Regions from separate parts of the Homo sapiens genome. Here regions 2 and 3 are each linked to region 1. The links are contacts of gene promoters, found by promoter capture Hi-C in human tissues and cell types (Jung and others, 2019). All regions are on one chromosome and are shown on one strand. The core of a region is centred on a gene start or on the middle of the fragment in contact, and the rest is flanking DNA. Distances in the headings are between cores, read along the strand shown. Region 1 holds the start of DDN (dendrin). Region 2 has its middle 31 kb from the start of TUBA1C. Region 3 overlaps DDX23 (DEAD-box helicase 23).

Region 1 (4,188 bases), core at 928-3,427:
CCCGCAGGTTTACTTCGGGGGCCGGGAGCCCCAAGATGCGGAAAGTGCGCTCCTCCAGTGTGGAGTCCCCCGGCCTCCCGCCCTCAGCTTCGCCCCCGCGGCCCCCGCCGGGCTGGTGTAAAAGGCGACTGCTCGACAGCCGCTTTTGACAAGGGGAAGGAAAGACCGTGGCCCCTTCACCCTCCTCCTTGCCGGGCTTCGATTGGCTGGGGGAATCCCCCACCACGCGTGTCACCCCAGAGGGCAAAAGCTGCACCTGCTGGGTTCGGGGGGTTGGAACATATTGGGATCGTATCACTACGCACGTGGCGTCAATGACAAAGACGCCTTCCCCACGGGACAGGCCCTGGGAACTGCGGGGCAAGGTGTGGGCACGGCGGGTCGCCTTCCAACCCTCCAGGGTCTCCGGTCCTGCCCCCTCTCCAAGACCCAGAGATTCTCTCCATCCGGTGCCTCCGGGAGCCCAGGGTCTGGGGAGTGTCTGGCTATGGCGGGGCGGCTGCTTTTTAGGGGAGGGAATCCAGCATTTGGGAAACCAGATCTGTTCTCCTTCTTTCCCTTCCCTCGAGCCCTTGAGGTGGTGCCTGGATCTGGGAGCGGGATGCGGGGCACAGGGAGCCGCAGTTGCAGACCCCGCAGGAGCTATCTCGGTGCCTGCGCTCCCTGTAGCTTTGGCTTGGGGATGGCTGTCGCTACCACTGTTCAGGTCAGCAGCAGCCAGCCCCAGGCTTTTCTCCACGACCCCCTTGCCGGGCTCTGGCCTTGCTCTGGCCGCTCCACAGCCTGGGGATCCCCCCAAGAGACCTTGCCCCTGTCGGAGACCCCAAGCCCCGAGGACGTCCCGGTAGATCCGAGGATCCAGCCTCTTCTTTGTGCGCCCTCCGTCTGTCCTGGCTGGAGTCGCAGCTGGGGCTGATGAAGTGGGCACCTGAGAGTTCCCGGGGCCTCTCTTAGTCCCCAAGGTCCTATGGGGGCCTTCGTAAGAAGGTGGAGCCACGTAGGGTGGCGGCCGGTCCCAGCGGCGTCGTGGGGCGGTCCCGGCAGAACCTCTCAGCAGCAGGTGAGCCTCGTAGCTTGGGGGCCCGGGCCGCCGACCTCCCCAGGGCCCCGCCCACGCCGACCCTGGGTCGCTCTGCGGCTGCGCGGATGGACGGGGCGCTCGCCCCACAGGCGCCAGGCGCTCCGGCCGCAAGGGAGCAGGGAGCCCTGCCAGCTGGGCCACCCGAGGGGCGTTGCGGGGCTCCGGGCGGGGTCGACCCGGGGGGCTCCGTCGGGCCCCACCAGCCTTGCGCCTTTTTCGCTCGGTCTCCTTGGCCTCCCGCTCCTGCGACGCCGCTTTCCTTTTCTCTTGCTCCCGAGCTCGGACCTCGGCCAGGGGCCCCGCCCGCCAGTTGGTCGCCTCCTGCAGCACCCTGGAGGCCCAGGGCCGGCGGGGCGGCGGCTGTGGGGATCCCGGGCGCGGCCCACACCTGGGACAATGAGCAGGAACCCAGGTGAGCAGTTTGTGGGGGAAGGGAGCCGAGGTCCGGGGAGCTGGGAGCACTGGAGACCACTTGGGGCAGCCATGTGAAGGGGTGTGTGTGAGTGTGTGCGCGTGTGCACGTGCGTATATGTTAGGACTGAAGTCGAAGCGGGACTCCTCGCCATCTCTCCATGCACACTTTAACAGCGTCTGCCCCATCTCACCTCCTGCCCTTTCTCACACCCACTTCTGTTCCCCCAAACAACGGGATGAGTCAGGCCCCAGCCCTCGGGAGCGGGCAGAGGTGGAAGGCGTGGGAAAGAGAAGGGGGACCAGCAGTGCTCGCTGGTGCCTGCGGGGAGGTCCGGACCCCACTCCCCGCCCCACCACTCTCTTCCCCTCACCCCTGCTTCACTCACGTGCGGTTCTGGAACCCGCGAGCCCAGTGGCTGGCCTGGAAGTCCATGGGCTGTCGAGAAGGGGCGCGGCGACTATAATGACAGGAAATAGTCTTCACTTCTATCACCAATAGCTTGGACTTCTGCACCCAGAGGCAGCTGCCAGACTCCTCATCCTGGAGCTCCCGGGGGCTGTCAGGCCCCTCGGAGAACAGTGGGCCATCCAGCATCCTGCCCCACCCCACCCCGGCCCCCCACCCTCCCACCCGCCCCAGGAGCCCCCTCCCAGCCCAGGGAGCCGGCGCCCACTGCAGAGCCGCGGGCCCGGGGACTGGGAACTATATATACCCGGGCACACGTGTGTGTGCCTGTCTCTGTGTGTGCGCGCGCATGTGACACCGCGCGGACTGCTCCGCGCTGCTACCTCCCCCATGTGCACGGCCGCCCCCTGGGGCCCGGGATTGGACGCCCCTTCCCACTGCTGTTGTCCCCCAAGCCTGATGGGATCGCACGAGTGGGCGGGGGAGGGACTTATGATTCTTGCCAAGCTGACAGTGCCCCCTCCCCCGCCCCTATTTCTTCAACCTTCCTGCCGTTTTAACCCTTTACTCTCCTGCTTGTCAGGTTGCCTGACCACCAGGGTTCTGCCCCTGGCTTCCTGCCTCAGATTTCAGTTTCCCCAACATAGAGTGATGAGATTGGAACTCAAGGTCTCTGCCTGCCACTCTGCTGGTTTCCATGGGGCTGGGGTGCAGGAGGGGCTGGCCCACGGCTGGGGGGCTATTTTTAGCGGCAGTGGCTGTTCGGGTGCAGAGATGAGATGAGTAACCAGCTCCCATGCGGTGGAGAGAGGAGGCGGTGGCTTTTACCAAGCTTTTGTGCGACTCTGAGGGAGAGCTGCCTTCCCTAAGCTCAAAAAGGGTGACCCCTACACCCGTATCTCCTTGTCAGCTCAGTGCTGCAGCCTAGGACTGCTGGTACAGCAGGACACAGGCGTCTGCCTTGGCCACCCAAGCTGCCCTACCAGTTCCATTCTACATGTTTGTCCTTGGGCAGCCAGGGAGCCCTCCCACAGCAGCAGGCTTTCACCTCCAATCCAGAAGCCAGGATTTGGGGGTTATATTGTTCTGTGCCCACACAGCCTGCCCAGCTTTATGGAGGACAGAGTAAGTGCTTATGCACTCTCACCCTTCCAGAGGGGGATGGAGGAGAAATGATGTGTTTGCTTGGCAAAACTAATCCCCTAGCAACTGAAATGATAAAAGTGGCCTTTATTTTTTTCAATGTAGAACTCCCCCTCACCACCACCACAATGCCTAGTTCACTCAGTCCCCACCTTAAGTGGTGCTCCAGATGCTCACCTTTTGGGCTGCCTCTGTCCTGGGGGGCTGTTGCTTATATCCACATGATCCCTCCTCCTAAGCTTATACCAGGTGTCCCCTGATTCACCATGGTAATGTTAGTGGCAGCACAGCCCACGCCAACCCTTCCATGCAGAGACTTAGCAACCATGCCTGGCAACCATGGCAGCAGCTTCAGTGGAGGGGAGCAGTGCAGAGAGAGGGGAGAGTGTGTGGGGCATGGTTCCTCGGGAAGAAGGGATAATTTGCCTCTCTGGAGAGGAATAGGTAAGAATAGAAGCTTGTGAGTCTCCCAAATTTCATCCCTTGTCTCTCCCTCAGCTTCATCCTCACACTGAGACGGATAGGTTGGGTTTTAGAGGGAAATGGGAGAAGCAAGAGTTCCCAATTAGTTTTCCACTAATGTACATGGAGCCCTTTGGGTCCAGACCCTTCCTTTTAAGGGGATGGGGAACAACCAGAAAGGTTGTGGGGCAGAGACTGACAGACTGAGAAACAACTCAACAAAACCAGGTCTCTGCTCCCTAACACAAACCTTTAGAGAGAACGCAAACATCCCGTCCCATCCACCCTACCCCCCTTGATTCCACACACCTGCCAGCTGCACTGATGACTTGACTCGAAGATGCTTCCTTCCACCCTAGGTCCCACTAGAGTCCTGAGGCTTTTTAAAGCCCTTGCCTCCTCCCTAGGCAAATCTTCCTTAATGAGGGAATGTGACATAAGGGGCCATCTGTCCTTTCCACCATGTGCTTACCCTCCTGACACATAAACATACTCTAATTCTAATAACTTGGAAGCCTTCCTCCCCCAAGGTTGAGAATGTGCTGTGAGAGCTGTAAAGGGGTGAAGGCAGAAGCAGGGGCTCCTCCACAGCCATGATGCAACACTGAAAGCTGAGCTCTGATGAGGGCCACCTTCTTTTTTTAAAATAAGCTTCCTCAGGTCGAATCTGATGAGGGCCTTG
Region 2 (4,188 bases), core at 1,051-3,550, 230 kb after region 1:
ACACCTGCTCATATGTTCTGTGTCTAGCTTCAGAATTATTGTAGAAGCTTGCCTGAACGTCACCTATAGAACCTGAGCCATTAGATCATCTATCCCTAAACGCTAATGCTGGGCTGATTTCCTGGCTGGGGGTGGCTCTCATTTCCTCCAGAGGGCCTGACAGAAGGAGGACAAGAGCTGATTGGGAGGAGCTGCCCTCAGGGCCACCCAACGCTTGCTTTCACAGTAACCTGCAGATAGTCCCTTGTTCTGGACACAACAGGAGTGGATATTTAGCAAGCAGATGAAATCCAAAGAGCAGAAACTGTCTGAAAGGGCCTGAGGATGCTGTGTGAAGGGAATGAAGCAACCTCATTTTTGCGGATAAATTCCCCGGAAATAAACCTATAGTATTTACAAAATGTCCACCTTGTCCTTCTCAGCACAGTAAGCTTTCTCTGACCCACAGAACCCATTTTCTGTTTGGATATGAACTCATTGCAGCCTGCCCAACATGAAATTCCAACTGGACATAAAAGGGCACTTCAGCTGTCAAGCCACGTGTGGATTTCGGTTTAAGAATCAGCCCAGGCAGCAGATGCTCCAAGTGCTTGGGGAGTGGCACGCCTATTCCTGATACAGAAGTCAGGCACCCTTTGTCTTGATCCCCCACTTAAATCAGGGATAGGCAATTCTGAATTTTTAAAAAGGCGCTATGTTAAATCCTTCTTATGAGAAAAAAATATCACTTATAATGTAGAAAGTTGAGGTTTCTCAGAGAGCTCTCCCTTTTACTGCTGAAGGGGCTTCTCAGCAGGCAAAGATATCTGCTCAGTAACTTATACTTCTGTGAAGAAGAGATTCCTAAGTGTAAGATGTATGACTTGTCGTTTTGGGGTTAAGTACAATCCCAAACACTCTGTCTCCACCACCTTTTTTCTGGAGGTGTTCTTTTTATTTTATTTTTTCAAAGTGGGGCACATTTCAGAAATTTTTGCTGGGAAACTCAGAATACAAACTTAACGGCATGTTAAAATTCTAAAAATAGTTTGACCCTGCATTTCACAGAGTTCAGGGCTTCAAAACTGTGCTGTCCAAACATGATTGGTGATTAATTGATTTTGACCCCCTGCAAGAAGTGAAAGCAGCTGGTTTACGAGACTTGAGAGACAGCCGATTTTCCAAGGGAGAACAAAGAAAAAGTGGCCACCCCTCCCCGCTGGGAGCGCGCTTTGCTTTGTCTGAGCGGACTCTCTCCAGGGACTGCCGCCGGGGAGGCTCAAAGCTGTGTCCTTGCGATTAGTTTGGTACACTTGGTTCAGCAGCCTGGGGAATGTGGGGAGATGTGTGCCTGCACAGTATCAACGTTATCAGCTGCCCTGTTCATGTCGCCTCTCCCTGAAGGACACTTTCATAACACAGTAACACTTAGGAGAAGGTTCCCCTCCTTTACTTCTGTTTCTCTGCTGATAAACAAATGTCAGGCATCTTCCTGGATCCGGGCCCTGATTCACTAAGTTACTGTATATCCATTGCCCTTTTTTGTCCTCCAAACACTGAGCTCTCAGTGCTCTTCTGGCTGGATCCAGATTGTGAAGATTACAGCCCCACTGGTTCCTTTCAGGACTTGGGGGCCCAACATTCCATCTCCAGGGCCTCAAGGAGCCTTCCATTCCTGATGGGTTCCCAATTACCGTGTTTCTGGTGCTACCAGACAAAAGAGAAGGCCCTGTTTTGACCCAGAGCCCTATAGCTGTGCCCTGATGGGAGATGGGAATTTTGATGTCTGACAACCTGATCAACAGCGTGACTCCTAGACCGAGTGAACCGTGGTCCGTCCACGAGCCTTCATCACTAGAGGAAAAACGGAGATGAATGATTATGACGCTTGAAGCAACGAACCTCTGCAAGTAGGAGGGTCCGGAAGGTTATTCCGGAATCACTGGGCAAGGTGAAGGGCAGGGCTGCGTAAGCGAAAGCGTCTGCTCAGTGCAGGGCAGCATAAACTCTGCAACATAAAAAGAGGGAAGCTGAGCTCTGGCATCATCTTGCGGGTTGCAGTTCCCGGCAACAGGGCTGGCTCCAGAGCAGAAGCGCAACCCGTCATCTTCCTGCGGGCCGCAGCCATAGGTGGAGAAAGGTGGTACCACAAGGCTCTCCCACTGGATGACGGTGACGCGCAATAAGCAGATGATTGCAGAGGCTCCTGTCAAATGGGTGCAGAGAAAAGGGAAGTGGGGAGAGGAGGAGGGACCTAGAAATGGCACTGCAACGATCCTGGAATAAAAACGAGGGGCCACAGTCAGAAATGACAAACGCCTCCACCTTGAAACGCAACCCCTAGCCCATTTATCCAATTTGCCTCTGATAACTGCTTTTAATATGTTGTAAATCCCATTAAAGCAGGAGAGAATAAATGAAAGCAGTCCCCTACCAGGTTCTAATTTTCATTCTCCTTTAGCATTGTCTTAAATAACAAGGACACCCTAAAAATCAAGTCCACCCTGTTTAGCTGTGGCAAGCGCTAAAAACCGTTAAGTTCGTTGAAACACTACTCTCCAAACCAGAGTAGGCTTCCAGGTTTCTCTGCAGAGCAGAAAGGAGGCTGTGGTTGTGTCCATGACTTTGCTTCCTTGGTTAGTACGGTGACGTGCAGCGCCAGGGCCTGGGCCTGGGCTCGGGCTCCCACCCGCGTGGCGCCGCAGTCCTGGCGAGCCCCGAGCGCTCTGTCCCCGGTGACCAGCAGGCGGCGCTATCTCCAGGCCGCAGCCGCCGCCCCGCCCGCCACGAAGGCCACTTCCGCCGCGGCCCGGCGAGCGCGCCCCCGCCACGCCCTGCTGTTTAGAAGCGGCCTTTCTTCACATATCGCTGTCCGCGAAAGTTTCTGAACTCTTGTGACAATTAATGCTGTTTGAAAACCTCCCTCTTGGGTCTTTTGGAAGAGTGGACATCCTAAAAAAAATTTTCTTTTTGGAGACGGAGTATTGCTTTTGTTGCCCAGGCTGGAGTGCACTGGCGCGATCTCGGCTCACTGCAACCTCCGCCTCCCAGATTCAAGCGATTCTCCTGCCTCAGACTCCCGAGTATTTGGGATTACAGGCACCCGCCACCACGCCCATCTGATTTTTGTATTTTTAGTAGAGACGGGGTTTCACCATGTTGGTCAGGCTGGTCTCGAATTCCTGTCCTCGTGATCCGCCCGCCTCGGCCTCCCAAAGTGCTGGGATTACAGGCGTGAGCGACTGCGCCCGGCCAAAAAAAAAAAAAAAATTAATTTGGGATTGCGTAATCAAAAAGTCTTTTAGACATCTCAAATGCATTGCAACTTATTCGAATAAAAAGGGCTCCTGACACGGACAAAAAGGCAGTATAGGTTGAAAATTAGAATGCTTAAAAAAAAAAAAAATTCCCCTTCCTGTTAGTTCCAGATTTTTCTGCAAGCTTGGAGGACAGCTCGCGAAAATTCAGCTGGGGCGCCATCTGCTGGACGCGCCGCGCCGCTGCAAGGCCCTTTCCGGAAAGGTGTCGGGGTTGCAGGTCAGCGCCCCATTTTTTGTCCAGGAGAGACTCGCTGGCACCTTGGCTGGACCAGGCTGGGCGCAGTGGCTCACACCTGTAATCCCAACACTTTGGGAGGCCGAGGCAGGTGGATCACCTGAGGTCAGGAGTTTGAGACCAGTCTGGCCAACATGGTGAAACCCCGTCTCTACTAAAAATACAAAGAGTAGCTGGGCCTGGTGGTGCGCGCCTGTAATTCCAGCTACTCGGGAGGCTGAGGCAGAATTGCTTGAACCTGGCAGGCGAAAGTTACAGTTCGCCTGGGAGGCGAAAGTTGCACTCCAGCCTGGGTGACAGGGTGAGACTCGGTCTCAAAAAAAAAAAAAAAAAAATCTTACATAGTTTTTAAAAAATAAAAAGAGACCAGGCTGACTCTCTGCAAGAAAGTGGCCTGTGTTGAGGAGCCCTCGGGCCTCAATGAGTCGTCATTTGTTACATTGCTGGTCTCTGAGGAAAACCTGAGGCTCAACTCATTTAATTTCCTCCACCGGCCCACGGGCACAGGGCTACAAACTAAAACTATGCTTTCCATCAGTGCACACAGCGGGTTTCAGGGACAGAAATCACAATGTGCTTATTCTGAATGCTTCTGATTTTGCTGAATGGGAGGAGTTTCCAAGGTGAAGAGGGTGACAGAAATGAAATTAATCT
Region 3 (4,188 bases), core at 726-3,225, 150 kb before region 1:
GCCACCCCGTCCGGGAGGAAGGTGGGGGGGTCAGCCCCCCGCCCGGCCAGCCGCCCCGTCCGGGAGGGAGGTGGGGGGGTCAGCCCCCCGCCCGGCCAGCCGCCCCGTCCAGGAGGTGAGGGGCGCCTCTGCCCGGCCGCCCCTACTGGGAAGTGAGGAGCCCCTCTGCCCGGCCAGCCGCCCCGTCCGGGAGGGAGGTGGGGGGGTCAGCCCCCCGCCCGGCCAGCCGCCCCGTCCAGGAGGTGAGGGGCGCCTCTGCCCGGCCGCCCCTACTGGGAAGTGAGGAGCCCCTCTGCCCGCCCACCACCCCGTCTGGGAGGTGTACTCAACAGCTCATTGAGAACGGACCATGATGACAGTGGCGGTTTTGTGGAATAGAAAGGCGGGAAAGGTGGGGAAAAGATTGAGAAATCGGATGGTTGCCGTGTCTGTGTAGAAAGAGGTAGACATGGGAGACTTTTCATTTTGTTCTGTACTAAGAAAAATTCTTCTGCCTTGGGATCCTGTTGATCTGTGACCTTACCCCCAACCCTGTGCTCTCTGAAACATGTGCTGTGTCCACTCAGGGTTGAATGGATTAAGGGTGGTGCAAGATGTGCTTTGTTAAACAGATGCTTGAAGGCAGCATGCTCGTTAAGAGTCATCACCACTCCCTAATCTCAAGTACCCAGGGACACAAACACTGCGGAAGGCCGCAGGGTCCTCTGCCTAGGAAAACCAGAGACCTTTGTTCACTTGTTTATCTGCTGACCTTCCCTCCACTATTGTCCTGTGACCCTGCCAAATCCCCCTCTGCAAGAAACACCCAAGAATGATCAATTAAAAAAAAAAAAACCCAAAAAAAACAAAATCTGGTGGCAGATGCCTGTAGTCCAGCTACTCAGGAGGCTGAGGTGGGTGGATCACCTAAGCCTGGGGGAGTCAAGGCTGCAGTAAGTTGTGATCACACCACTGCACTCCAGCCTGGGCAAAAGAGACCCTGCCTCAAAAAAATAAATAAAAATAAATAAGAAAGAGAGCTCTGTAATAACTACCAACAGAATCTGTTAAGAGAAATCTACTTTCTTTCTTTCTTTTTTTTTTTTTTTTTTTGAGACAGAGTCTTGCTCTGTCGCCCAGGCTGGAGTGCAGTGGCGTGATCTCGACTCACTGCAGGCTCCGCCTCCCGGGTTCACGCCATTCTCCTACCTCAGCCTCCTGAGTAGCTGGGACTACAGGCACCCGCCACCACGCCCGGCTAATTTTTTGTATATTTAGTAGAGACGGGGTTTCACCATGTTAGCCAGGATGGTCTCGATCTCCTGACTTCGTGATCCACCAGCCTCAGCCTCCCAAAGTGCTGGGATTACAGGCGTGAGCCACCACGCCTGGCGAGAAATCTACTTTCATAAGAAGCTGAGCAAACTCAGGTGCAGAGAAGAAATGGGAGCATTCCCCTAAAGCCCCCTCTCATTCCTTCATGTACCTGGATCGTTTACGGTCCTTGTCCCGTCTGTGCCCATCCTTGTCTCGATCTCGGTCCTTCTTATTCCGATCCCGCTCCTTATCTCGTTCTCGTTCTTTGTGCCGTCGTTCTCTGGAAGACCGCAAATTTAAGAGTTCACTTGGTATTTCCAAAGTATCTTGCTTCACTGCAGCCCTGAGAAAGTTCCTATACTCTCGTCCCAAAGTAATGTTTTACAAATTAGAGAATGTATCTCTCACGGAAATAACGAGGGAATTCTAAGAAGCTTTTATAGATCAGAGATGTACTGTTAAATATTAACGGCAATGACAGGTCACGGACTATGTGAACAGATGAACCTTCCTTTTTTATTTTTTTGAGATGGAGTCTCACTCTCACGCCCAGGCTGGAGTGCAGTGGTGTGATCTCGGCTCACTGCAGCCTCTGCCTCCCGAGTTCAAGGAATTGTCATGCCTCAGCCTCCCGAGTAGCTGGGATTACAGATGTGCACCACCATGCCTGGCTAATTTTTGTATTTTTAGTAGAGACGGGGTTTTGCCATGTTGGCCAGGCTGCTCTCAAACTCCTCACCTCAAGTAATCCACCTACCTCGGCCTCCCAAAGTGCTGGGATTATAGGTATGAGCCACCGCGCCCGGCCACAGATGAACCTTCCTTGATAACCCGGACCTTCACCTTACTAGTTCCCTCTCAACTTTTTTTTTTTTTATTTTTAGTAGAGATCAGGTATCACTGTGTTAGCCAGGATGGTCTCGATCTCCTGACCTCGTGATCCACCTGCCTCGGCCTCCCAAAGTGCTGGGATTACAGGCGTGAACCAACCGCGCCCGGCCCCCTCTCAACTTTTAAGAGTTGGGTCACTGAGGAAAACTGAAAACACCTGCAGGTCCAACTGGGCTAGGAGTAGATTAATGTACAAAAAGTAGATGCCTAGCCGGGCGTGGTGGCTCACGCCCGTAATCCCAGCACTTTGGGAAGCTGAGGTGGGTGGATCACCTGAGGTCGGAAGATTGAGATCAGCCTGACCAACGTGGAGAAACCCCGTCTCTACTAAAAGTACAAAATTAGCCAGGTGTGGTGGCACATGCCTGTAATCCCAGCTATTCGGGAGGCTGAGGCAGGAGAATTGCTTGAACCTGGGAGGCAGAGGTTGCAGTGAGCCGAGATCGTGCCATTGCACTCCAGCCTGGGAAACAAGAGTGAAACTCCATCTTTTAAAAAAAAAAAAAAAAAGGCCAGGCGCGGTGGCTCACGCCTATAATCTCAGCACTTGGGGAGGCTGAAGCAGGCAGATCACGTCAGGAGATCGAGACCATCCTGGCTAACACGGTGAAACCTCATCTCTACTAAAAATACAAAAACATTAGCCGGGCATGGTGTCGGGCGCCTGTAGTCCCAGCTACGCACTCAGGAGGCAGAGGCAGGAGAATGGCGTGAACCTGCGAGGCGGAGCTTGCAGTGAGCTGAGATCGCACCACTGCACTCCAGTCTGGGTAACAAACAGAGCGAGACTCTGTCTCAAAAAATAAAAATAAAAAGTAGATGCCTAATACTGGAGGCATCAGAAGAACCAAGAAGGAAGAAATCTGAAACGTACTCTCCCTTCCCATGTAATAACATACAAAGTTACTTTACCTTTCTGCAGATTTGGAACGGGAACGAGAGCGAGAACGGCTGCCTCCTCGACGTCTATCCCTTGAACGATGCCGCTTTCTATCTTTAGATGGGGAAGACTTCCGGTCCCGGTCTCTATCCCGCTCTCTGTCAGGAGTCCGTGATCGCTTCCTTTCCTCCTTGGAAGGTGATGCATCACGGTCCTTTTTGTCAGCCAGCTCTCCTGCCATCTGTAATGAGTAGGAAGAGTACTTACAATGTACTAGGCACTGCTCTAAACTGCTTATATATAATTCAATTACCCTCAAAACAACCCTATGAGGTGGATATATTAGTATGTCTACCGTACAGATGAGAACGGTGGAGCTCAGGTATATAAAGGAACTTGTCTGAGGGCAGACAGGTAGTGGCAGAGTTGCAGGCAGTCTGGCTCCACAGGCCATCGTTACTCACTATATTGTCTCCCTGTAATTCCTTTCAGAGTCTCACTCTGTCACCCAGGCTGGAGTGCAGTGGTGCAATCATAGGTCACTGCAGCTTCAACTTCCTGGGCTCAAGCCATCCTCCTGCCTTGCCTAGCTAATTTATTTTTTTTATAGACAGGGTCTCACTATGCTGCCCAGGCTGGTCTTAAATTCCTGACCTCAAGCAATCCTCCTGCCTCAGCCTCTAAAAGGCTGAGATTACAGGCGTGAGCCACAGTGCCTGGTCGATTCCTTTTTATATATTCATTTCTAAATATGTACAGTGAATATACCATGTTTTTGTAATTAGACTACAAAAGAGTATTAAAAGAAGTGTTAGTGTATGAACAGTGTACCAACTATTTCTAGAAACATCCTATATTGCTTACTTTGAAGTTTATTAGGTCTGCCAACCCACTAGGATCAGTTAGCACTCATACGTCTGAGAGAGATAAATTTTCTTGAGCTCATAAAGAAAGCTCAATGGAGAAAAAAGTTTAACTTTGAGATCTGGATTACGTTATAATTAGCACCACAAGGAAAACCTGAATTTAAGTGGAGAAACACACTTTTACTCAGATTAAAAGAAATGTACCTCTAATTATGCAATGGGAAGAACTTGGTGAAGGGTACACAGAACCTCTAT

Evidence for each region. Contacts are between HindIII fragments. The study calls those that stand out against the background at their distance.
Region 2: a fragment that was not itself captured here is called in contact with the fragment with the promoter of DDN in region 1 in 1 of the 25 tissues and cell types used here (spleen).
Region 3: a contact is called between a fragment that was not itself captured here and the fragment with the promoter of DDN in region 1, in 2 of the 25 tissues and cell types used here (liver and lymphoblastoid cells).

Annotation. Positions count from the first base shown.
Region 1 is chr12:48,997,198-49,001,385 of GRCh38, forward strand. DDN (dendrin) reads right to left here and starts at 2,178. Exons shown (of 2, transcript NM_015086.2): 1 at 1,882-2,178; 2 at 1-1,469. The coding sequence starts at 2,090. It overlaps DDN-AS1 (DDN and PRKAG1 antisense RNA 1), which reads left to right and starts at 1,150. Exons shown (of 2, transcript NR_147179.1): 1 at 1,150-1,493. RefSeq lists silencers at 1-159, 360-449, 1,000-1,459, 2,109-2,403 and enhancers at 810-879, 2,549-2,843. The HindIII fragment of the contact is 9,489 bases long and covers 1-3,008 here.
Region 2 is chr12:49,231,883-49,236,070 of GRCh38, forward strand. It overlaps a transcript of TUBA1C not described here. Among named protein-coding and RNA genes, the nearest start is that of TUBA1C, 31 kb to the right of the region's middle. RefSeq lists a silencer at 2,595-2,884. The HindIII fragment of the contact is 6,126 bases long and covers 1-4,188 here.
Region 3 is chr12:48,842,475-48,846,662 of GRCh38, forward strand. DDX23 (DEAD-box helicase 23) reads right to left here. Exons shown (of 17, transcript NM_004818.3): 2 at 3,100-3,308; 3 at 1,466-1,576. The coding sequence starts at 3,308. Among named protein-coding and RNA genes, the nearest start is that of DDX23, 7.6 kb to the right of the region's middle. The HindIII fragment of the contact is 6,479 bases long and covers 1-4,188 here.